2 separate regions of the Homo sapiens genome follow, and region 2 is linked to region 1. Evidence: promoter capture Hi-C in 16 types of primary human blood cells and fetal thymus (Javierre and others, 2016). All regions are on one chromosome and are shown on one strand. The core of a region is centred on a gene start or on the middle of the fragment in contact, and the rest is flanking DNA. Distances in the headings are between cores, read along the strand shown.

Region 1 (4,819 bases), core at 1,702-4,201:
AAAAAAAAAAAAAATTAAATTATTGTACCTCATACATCAGCCTTCTATGGAAAATGTAATCCTATTATATTTATTTGCCGTTTCCCTATATAAGTGTTAGGGAAGCAGGTGCCTAGGGGAGCCAGAGAAAGACCAACCAGCTCCATCTTGAGACTAACAAGAAACACTCCTTGCCAGTCACAACCCATAGTCATAAAATGTTTCCCATGAAGAAAACAGCCTGAAGATGCCTGCAAGTATCCTTACACTCCCACAACGACAGAATGTCCCGATGTCCCAATACCCCAATACCCATAATATGTGCTTTCAAGGTAATTATAGTTATGCTTTAATGCACTTGTGCACTAAAATGTAAAGGATAGTTTTCTTTAAATCAACAGAGTAATAAATTTTGTGATGCTGTCAGCCCACATGCAGGTAGGCACAGCTTAGTTTATTCTTTACATAGACAAGATCCCTACATAAGAAAAACTTAAGACAGTACATTCCTCCTCTTGCTGTATGAGGATGCCCTACTCTGTAACAGAGAAGCTTTCTTTCTTCTTCTTCTTCTTTTTTATTTTTTTAAATAGAGACAGGGTCTCGCTGTGTTGGCCAGGTTGGTCTTCAACTCTTTTTTGTTTGTTTGTTTTGTTTTTGTTTTTTGAGATGGGGTCTCACTCTGTTACCCAGGCTGGAGTGCAGTGGCGCATCCTCGGCTGGGCTGCAACCTCTGCCTCCCAGGTTCAAGTGATTGTCCCACCTCAGCCTCCTGAGTAACTGAGACTACAGGCACAGGCCACCACATCCGGCTAATTTTTCTTATTTTTGGAAGAGACGGGGTTTCGCTAAGTTGCCCAGGCTGGTCTCGAACTCCTGAGCTCAAGTGATCCTCTCGCCTGGGCCTCCCAAAGTGCTTGGATTACAGGCCTAAGCCATCATGCTGGCCCAGAGTAGCTTTCAATAAACTCTCTTCGCACTGCACTTTGTGACTCGTCTTGAATTCCTTCCTGTGTGAGATCCAAGAACTCTCTTGGGGTCTGATCAGGACCTCTTTTTTCAGTAATATAAGCAAGAACATAACTTCCAATTTTGGAGTACTGAGTCCATTTTTCTGGAGTCTGTGTTTTGGTCATTGCTATCTTTCTGCTTGAATAAACTCTTCCAACTGAAATCTGAACCTTTTGATTATTTCCGGTTGACAAGTCCAAATAAGGCGACTGCATCTCTGCAACCAATCAAGCATTTATCTGGTTTGTCTCCTCATGTACCTTATAAAAGCCTAGCCTTAAACATGTAAAACAAAAATAAAAACATATCTTCTGGCATGGCGATGTGGCTCACATCTGTAATCCCAGCACTTTGGGAGGCCGAGGGGGGTGGATCACTTGAGGTCAGGAGTTTGAGAACAGCCTGGCCAACATGGTGAAACCCCATCTCTACTAAAAATACAACAATTAGCTGGGGGTGGTGGTGCGTGCCTGTAATCCCAGCTACTCAGGAGGCTGAGGCAGGAGAATCCCTTGAACCCAGAAGGCAGAGGTTGCAGTGAGCCGAGATCGAGCCATTGCACACCAGCCTGGGCGACAGAAGGAGACTCCGTCTCAAACAAAAACAAAAACAAACAAAGTACCTTCCCAGCTAAGTGAAGTGACTGGCTCTTGGCCAAGGGAACCCCCAAAACACCCTGAAAATTGAGTGCCTCTGTATGACAGGATGGGAGGTGAGACAGGTCTCCTTATACCCTCTCCCTTTAGGAGTTTACATGCAGCAACTGACGCACATTCATGTAAAAACAGACATTCTCTGACTGGAAAAACAGACTCCTTGTGGCAACAAGATACCAAATTACAAACAAGACCTAAGGCCACGCAAGGCAAAGGTAAAGTTACGTCTTAGAATTCATAAAATCTAGAGAAACAGGACTGTTTTTTGGCTGGGATGGAATGAAGTGGCAGATAACAGACCCCCTTCCTTCAGCATTCCTTCCTACCTCCTCCAAACTTTAGACAAAGCTTCACACTCTCAACCAGCTGCCACCTACAGAATCCCTCAACCACCTGTGCCTCCTAACCCCCCTTCCACAGGTCCCACCCTTTCTGCCAATGGAATTTACACCTTCCAGCCTTGATCCATCATTTTCCCTGCAATTCCTGTCTCTCTGAAATGAATAAAACCAAACTGTCCTGAGCCGCCTCCGGACCACTTACTCCAGGCTGCTTGGGGTTGTGTTTCCCTCGGCCAAGGTCTCTCCTACTCGGCTCTGAATACACTTCTGTATTTTACATAGTCTGTTTTTTTTCCGTTGACAAACCACAAGCCAGGACCGGGTGTTTCTCATTCGTGAATGGCTGTTTCCTCAAATGAACTTTTTGTTAACGTACCTCAGTATAATTTTTAACAGGAGAAAGTGGAGGCTGTGGGCCCCACAGACCGCTGCTCCTCCTACGGACGAAATCCACACCCGAGTCGAAATCCGCGCATGACCCTCCCGTGGCCCCCGCACAAGCTGGGGCGTCGGGCTGCGGGCGCGGAGCTGCACAAAAGGGCTTCGGGGCCAAGGCCGCAGTCGACGGGCAGGGACGGGACAGGACGCCCGGAGTCCCGGCTGCCGGCCCACCCACATCCAGCGGCCGCGGGGACCGAGGGCCGAGCAGCTCTAGGAGGACTCGGTCCCAGACCCCGGAGTCGCCCACAGGGAGGCCCGGGTCCCGCCAGTTCCAGGCAGCCCCTCCCCCATCGCACCACTCCCGGCCAGCACACGCACCATTTCCCGGCTTTCAGATGTACCGGGGTCCTCTCTACAGCTCCTGTGAGTAAAGCAGGGCATAGCGCAGGTGACAGAGCGACAGAAATCTGGGTAGAGGCACTAGGTCCCTCTCGGGGCTGGAAAGGCCAGATCCCAACCGCCGCCCTCGCAGCGACAAAGGTGACGGCAGGAATGCAACATCCTCCGTGCCTGGATGCACAGTGGGCAGGGCCCCGAGCCAGTGCCTCTGATTGGATGGAATGTTCGGCCCCGCCCCCCACGTCTAAGTGACAGCGGAAGCCCTGGGTATCAGGCCCTGCGGAGCCAGACTGACAGATTCTAGCAACAGCTTCTCTAAGCTTACACGAGCTGCTTCCTGCACTCGGGTTATTGGATAGTTGCATTTCAGCCAAACTTGCTATTGTTAGAAGAGAACACTAGCGTCTTCCTCACTCAAAGGACTGTCCCCGCTCCTTCGTTCTGCACGGGGTCACAGGAGTGTGCAGGGAATTTCAGACTCAGTGTCCACAGGAGCCATCTCCTGCCTCAGAGCAGCAGGGGAACCGAGACCAGGCCAGGCAAGACTGCACCAGGAGGAGAGGCATATTTCCTCGAGCGGGCCGGAATTGGGGATGAGGCATGGCCAAGACTTGCTCACACACCCCCATCCCCTCCTCACAGTATGAAAATGCTCCGTCCTTCCAGATCTTCATTTTCACCTGCAGGAAACTCTCACCTGGGGTTAAGCTTCGGACCTAAATAAACTGTCAACCTCATAAACCTTTTATCCAGGTGACGCCACCAAACAATTGTGTCTCTAGCCTGATTTTCACACATTTTCTTTATATATACAAATAACTCTGACTCCAGCGACCCCATGTATGTCAAACCCCAAACCCTGCCCAGAAGACAGCCCCAGGCTCCAGAGGTACAACACCAGAAAGGACAGAACCCCACAAATGCGTCTGCACGAAGGTCTTCTGCTTTCCAGGGCCCTACAGCTTCTCGGAATCCACACTCCTTCTGGAGCTGCTCTGAGCAGCTGGAGGCCACCTGTAGGGGAGGGCGGGCTGCCCAGGAAGCCCCCAGGAAAAGCTCCTTTCCCTTCCTTTGCAGGCTCCAGACTGGCCTCAGCGTGGAGTCACTGGCCTCGGGCTCTGCTGCCCCTGCAGGTTATTCAGCTACTTCTCACCCCATTGATCAGTTCCATGACACAAACACCCTCAATCCCATTGTGTGAATAAGACACCAGCAGAGTCCCTGCTCTCCTCCTATGTTTATGTATAAAGTGGGGAAGGAAAATTCTAAGATAACTTAAGTACATTTAAAAGACTTCCAGATCGCGGTGGAGGTGGCAGCGGAGGGACCCACGGTCACTGACACTGCAGCACCTCCAGGCCTGTCTGGTCAGAGAAAGGGTGGAAAGCTGGAGATGGATGTGGATACGTGGAGGGAGCAGCCCTGGGAACTGGGCTCTGCAGCAGCGCGGCTCTAGGGCCTGGAGCCCGGGAGAGCACAGATGGGGGCTCCTGGGACAGGATGCTCAAAGAAGAGTCAGGTGGCTTCCATGAAATGGGGTGCTATGGCAGCTGGTGAGGGCCTGTGGCTATCATAATTTGGGACGTGAAAACTTGGATTCCGTGGGAATTTATGAAGAGGAAGGCTCTGATGACAAAGAAGTCATCGATGAGGAGGGGGATGAGGGTCACTGGCAAGCTCGCTTCCTTATGGAAAGAAAAGTGAACACCCAACTACTGCTGCAAAATGGGGTGAAAGGATGAGACTCTCACTGTCAGGGAATAAACTGCTGCAGAACTCTTAGAGATTGCAAAGACCTTTCAACAACAGCCTGGGAGGCCGGGTGCCATGGCTTACACCTGCAATCCCAACATTTTAGGAGGCCAAAGTGGGAGGATCACTTGAAGCCCGAAGTTGAAGACCACCCTGAGCAGTGAAGTGAGACACTCCCATCTCCATAATTTTTTTTTTATTAGCCTGGAGAGGTGGTGTGTACCCTTAGTCTCAGCTACTCAGGAGCCTGAGGCAGGAGGATTACTCGAGCCCCAAAGTTTGAGGCTGCTGTGAGCTTTG
Region 2 (4,925 bases), core at 1,485-3,984, 280 kb before region 1:
CCAGGAGGAGTGGGCTTTGCTGGATCCTTCCCAGAAGAATCTCTACAGGGATGTGATGCAGGAAACCTTCAAGAACCTGACCTCTGTAGGTAAGAATGACAATATTACTTCCCAGTGAATTAGAGAACAAATGCTTCTAGCTCATCAATGCTGTTCATTGATTTGGAACATGGACAAAAAATACTTTGATGAATAAATCAGGCATGGCTACCATGTACCATGAATACAGAATCTAATGATTTTTAAATAAATTCATACTAATTCTGGATCTGTGTTTTCTCCGGGTCTGTGTTTTAGGAAAAACATGGAAAGTTCAGAACATTGAAGATGAGTACAAAAATCCCAGGAGAAATCTAAGGTAATTTTCTCTCGCAAGACAAGGCAATGCCTCTAGAAAATCTTAAAATGTGAGAAAATAGGCCGGGTACAGTGGCTCACGCCTGTAATCCCAGCACTTTGGGAGGTCGAGGTGGGTGAATCCCAAGGTCAGGAGTTCGAGACCAGCCCGGCCAATATGGTGAAACCCTGTCTCTACTAAAAATACAAAAAAATTAGCTGGGCGTGGTGGCACATGCCTGTAGTCCCAGCTACTTGGGAGGCTGAGGCAGGAGAATTGCTTGAATCTGGGAGGCAGAGCTTGCAGTGAGCCGAGATCGCACCACTGCACTCCAGCCTGGGTGACAGAGCGAGACTCCGTCTCAAAAAAAAAAAAAAAGTGAGAAAATGTTAAAAAGAAGCAAAAGAAATAAGCCCAGTATCAAATTTATGTATTCATAGAAAGTTTTCCTAAAAACATATGTTTAAATGTAACATACGCTGGGCTGGGCACTGTTGCGCATACCCCCAAATGCCAGTCCTTTGGGGCTTTCAGACCAAAGGATTGCTGGAGGCCAGGAGTTTGAGGCTGCAGTGAGCCATGTTGGTACCACTACACTCCAATTTGGACAACAGGGTGAGTTGAGACCCCAACTCAAAAAAAAAGACGCACATGTTTAGTATTTGTAAAATAGTTTACTTGAAAATAGGATTACAAAGCCCCATAGAAATACTAATTTTAAAAAAATATATATACCCAGACCATCTTGTAGAGCATATAGTCCATTAATATTCAAATGATTCAGACAGAGCAGAAAGCTGACACTTTGCCGGGCAGTGTTAACAATGCAAGTGCAATAGTTGTTAATGATATAAATCATGTTTTTTTCTTCTTTTTTGAGACAAGAGTCTCGCTGTGTCACCCAGGCGGGAGTGGAGTGGTGTGGTTTTAGCTCACTGCAACTGCCACTGCTTGGGTTCGAGGTATTCTCGTGCCTTAGCATCCCAAGTAGTTGGGATTACAAGCGCACGCCGTCACACCTAGCCAATTTTTGTATTTTTAGTAGAGACAGGGTTTCGCCATGTTGGCCAGGCTGATCTCAAACTCCTGGCCTCAAGCCATCTGCCCGCCTCAACCTCCCATGGTGCTGGGATTACAGGCGTGACCCACCATACCCAGCCAATATAGATCACTTTTTTATTTTTTTATTTTTTTTTGAGACAGAGTTTCGCCCTTGTCACCCAGGCTAGAGCACAATGGCGCAATCTCAGCTCACTGCAACCTCTGCCTCTGGGGTTCAGGCGATTCTCCCAACTCAGGCTCCCGAGTAGCTGGGATTACAGGCACCTGCCACCACGCCCAGCTAATTTTTGCATTTTTAGTAGAGACGGGGTTTCACCATGTTGGCCAGGATGGTCTCAAACTCCTGACCTCAGGTGATCTGCCCACCTCAGCCTCCCAAAGTGCTGGGATTACAGGAGTGAGCCACTGTGCCCGGCCCTATAAGTCACTTTTAATCAAACCGTTAATAATGTGCTTCTCATTTTTCACTGAAGTCTTATGAGAGAGAAACTCTGTGAAAGTAAAGAAAGTCATCACTGTGGAGAAAGCTTCAACCAGATTGCAGATGACATGCTGAACAGGAAAACTCTTCCTGGAATAACACCATGTGAAAGCAGTGTGTGTGGAGAAGTTGGCACGGGTCATTCATCTCTTAATACGCATATCAGAGCTGACACTGGACACAAGTCATCTGAGTATCAGGAATATGGAGAGAATCCATATAGAAATAAGGAATGTAAGAAAGCCTTCAGTTATCTTGACTCCTTTCAATCACATGATAAAGCTTGCACTAAAGAGAAACCCTATGATGGTAAAGAATGTACAGAAACCTTCATTTCCCATTCATGCATTCAAAGACACAGGGTAATGCACAGTGGAGATGGACCTTATAAATGTAAGTTTTGTGGGAAAGCCTTCTATTTTCTCAATTTATGTCTTATCCATGAACGAATTCACACTGGTGTGAAACCATATAAGTGTAAACAATGTGGTAAGGCCTTTACTCGTTCCACTACCCTTCCAGTACATGAAAGAACTCACACAGGAGTGAATGCCGATGAATGTAAAGAATGTGGGAATGCATTCAGTTTTCCTAGTGAAATTCGTAGACATAAAAGGTCTCACACTGGAGAAAAACCCTATGAGTGTAAGCAATGTGGGAAAGTCTTCATTTCTTTCAGTTCCATTCAGTATCATAAGATGACTCACACTGGAGAGAAACCCTATGAATGTAAGCAGTGTGGGAAAGCCTTTAGATGTGGCTCACACCTTCAAAAGCATGGAAGGACTCACACTGGAGAGAAACCCTATGAATGTAGGCAATGTGGTAAAGCCTTCAGATGTACCTCGGACCTTCAAAGGCATGAAAAGACACACACTGAGGATAAACCCTATGGATGTAAGCAGTGTGGGAAAGGCTTTAGATGTGCTTCACAACTTCAAATTCATGAAAGGACGCACAGTGGAGAGAAACCCCATGAATGTAAGGAATGTGGAAAAGTATTCAAGTATTTTTCTTCCTTGCGTATACATGAAAGGACGCACACTGGAGAGAAGCCCCATGAATGTAAGCAATGTGGAAAAGCATTCAGGTATTTCTCTTCCTTGCATATACATGAAAGGACACACACTGGAGATAAGCCATATGAGTGTAAGGTATGTGGCAAAGCCTTCACTTGTTCCAGTTCCATTCGATATCATGAAAGGACTCACACTGGAGAGAAACCCTATGAATGTAAGCACTGTGGTAAGGCCTTTATTTCCAATTACATTCGATATCATGAAAGGACTCACACTGGAGAGAAACCCTATCAATGCAAGCAATGTGGCAAAGCCTTTATTCGTGCCAGTTCATGTCGAGAACATGAAAGAACTCATACCATTAATAGATGAGAAATCCTTTTAGTGGAAGCAACGGGAGAAGCTTTCTGTTGTCCCACTTCCTTTGAAACACAAGAAAAGAGAGTGGTGAAAGAACCTCTGGATAACTGCTTTTTGAATTGAGAAGAGAGACTTGCGATAGGACAATAAAATCTAGAAGAACTTGGATGGTTTCGTAATACAATTCACCTATAGCCAATCTTGCATGAGATTTCAAAGGCACAGAAAAGGAAGGCATCAGTCACATATTAGAGGCCCCACACAGGGAGAGAGGTGTGTGGCTACCCGCTTCCAGCCCATTTTCCTGATTCTTTGGCTTGTTAATCGAGAATATCCCCCAAATCACTTGTCTCTGTTCCTCAGAGTTGTAGGTCTCCAGATATGTCCCCAGTGCTCCACATTAAAGATACATGCCCACTTTGCTGTTTCTTCAGAAATGTTAAAATGTTTACCAGAGAACTAATAAATGTTGTTATGGCTGGAAATACTCACTGATGCCCAACTCTTCTATAGATTGAGTTGGTTTAAGAGGTCTACTTTGTATTGCAAGCATTGTTGTTTCTACGGATTAGCGAGCCTGTTCTTGATTAAACCAACTAGATGGGAGCTTGTTCCTCTGCTGCATTGTGCAGTGATTGGTCTCACCAAGGGCTTTTATGTGAGAAGAGCCACCTTGCTCTTATCAGGAAATTTCAAGCATTTGCTGTTATTCACAACTGAATGTAATGTCTCACTTCGTTTTTAACTTTGTATGAGTATACCTGACTAAAAACACTAATGCGGTTTCTTGGCAACAAATACTTCTGTTCATGTATTTTAGAAATAAGCTTATTAACTGTTTATAACAACTGCATACTAACAATTATTATTTTTTAATGAAGAAGCTACATTACAACCTCCCATTAACATCATGTATTAGATCAAGTTGATAATGTTACCATGTTATCCGGTGGTCACTGTGAGTCAGTGTTGCCATGTGGATGTCAGGCATATTTTTCCTCATGTAGATTTTACTTTTCATGCTTATATTCTTAGTTTTTATCTGGATCATGAATTTTCATCTATTCTAAATACCAAAGGTGATCTCATGTTCTTATGAGTGACTTCTGACCAAAGACCACCAGTGGCATAAGTGTCGTCAAAGAGGGTGTAATAATATACTGTGGTAATGAATATGACCAAAAGCCATAGATGACTGTGAGATGTGTGAGATATTAAAAGATAGTCACATTTCGTGAGAAGAGAAAAATTTGGGGTATGTTTGCAATTTAAAGTGTTTTCTTCTGTCACATTTCAAGACATGGTTAAAGAATGAGGTTTTTTTTTATTTTAATTTTTTTTTTTTTGAGACGGAGTCTTGCTCTGTCGCCCAGGCTGGAGTGCAGTGACTCGATCTCGGCTCATTGCAAGCTCCGCTTCCTGGTTCACGCCATTCTCCTGCCTCAACCTCCCAAGTAACTGGGACTACAGGTGCCCGCCACCGCGCCTGGCTAATTTTTTGTATTTTTAGTAGAGACAGGGTTTCACCATGGTCTCGATCTCCTGACTTCGTGATCCACCCGCCTCGGCCTCCCAAAGTGCTGGGATTACAGGCATGAGCCACTGTGCCCTGCCAAGAATTAGTTATTTTTGTATTGATCCATCATGGTCACTGAAGAGCATCATC

Evidence for each region. Contacts are between HindIII fragments. The CHiCAGO score rates a contact against its expected background, and 5 or more counts as called.
Region 2: a contact is called between a fragment that was not itself captured here and the fragment with the promoter of ZNF439 in region 1, in 1 of 17 cell types (total CD4 T cells). The highest score is 5.1, in total CD4 T cells.

Annotation. Positions count from the first base shown.
Region 1 is chr19:11,846,858-11,851,676 of GRCh38, reverse strand. ZNF439 (zinc finger protein 439) reads right to left here and starts at 2,951. Exons shown (of 4, transcript NM_001348719.2): 1 at 2,747-2,951. The coding sequence starts at 2,809. The HindIII fragment of the contact is 1,093 bases long and covers 1,997-3,089 here.
Region 2 is chr19:12,130,933-12,135,857 of GRCh38, reverse strand. It overlaps ZNF20 (zinc finger protein 20), which reads left to right. Exons shown (of 4, transcript NM_021143.4): 2 at 1-89; 3 at 298-358; 4 at 1,873-4,508. The coding sequence ends at 3,271. ZNF625-ZNF20 (ZNF625-ZNF20 readthrough (NMD candidate)) reads left to right here. Exons shown (of 8, transcript NR_037802.1): 6 at 1-89; 7 at 298-358; 8 at 1,873-4,508. Among named protein-coding and RNA genes, the nearest start is that of ZNF20, 7.0 kb to the left of the region's middle. The HindIII fragment of the contact is 1,140 bases long and covers 2,165-3,304 here.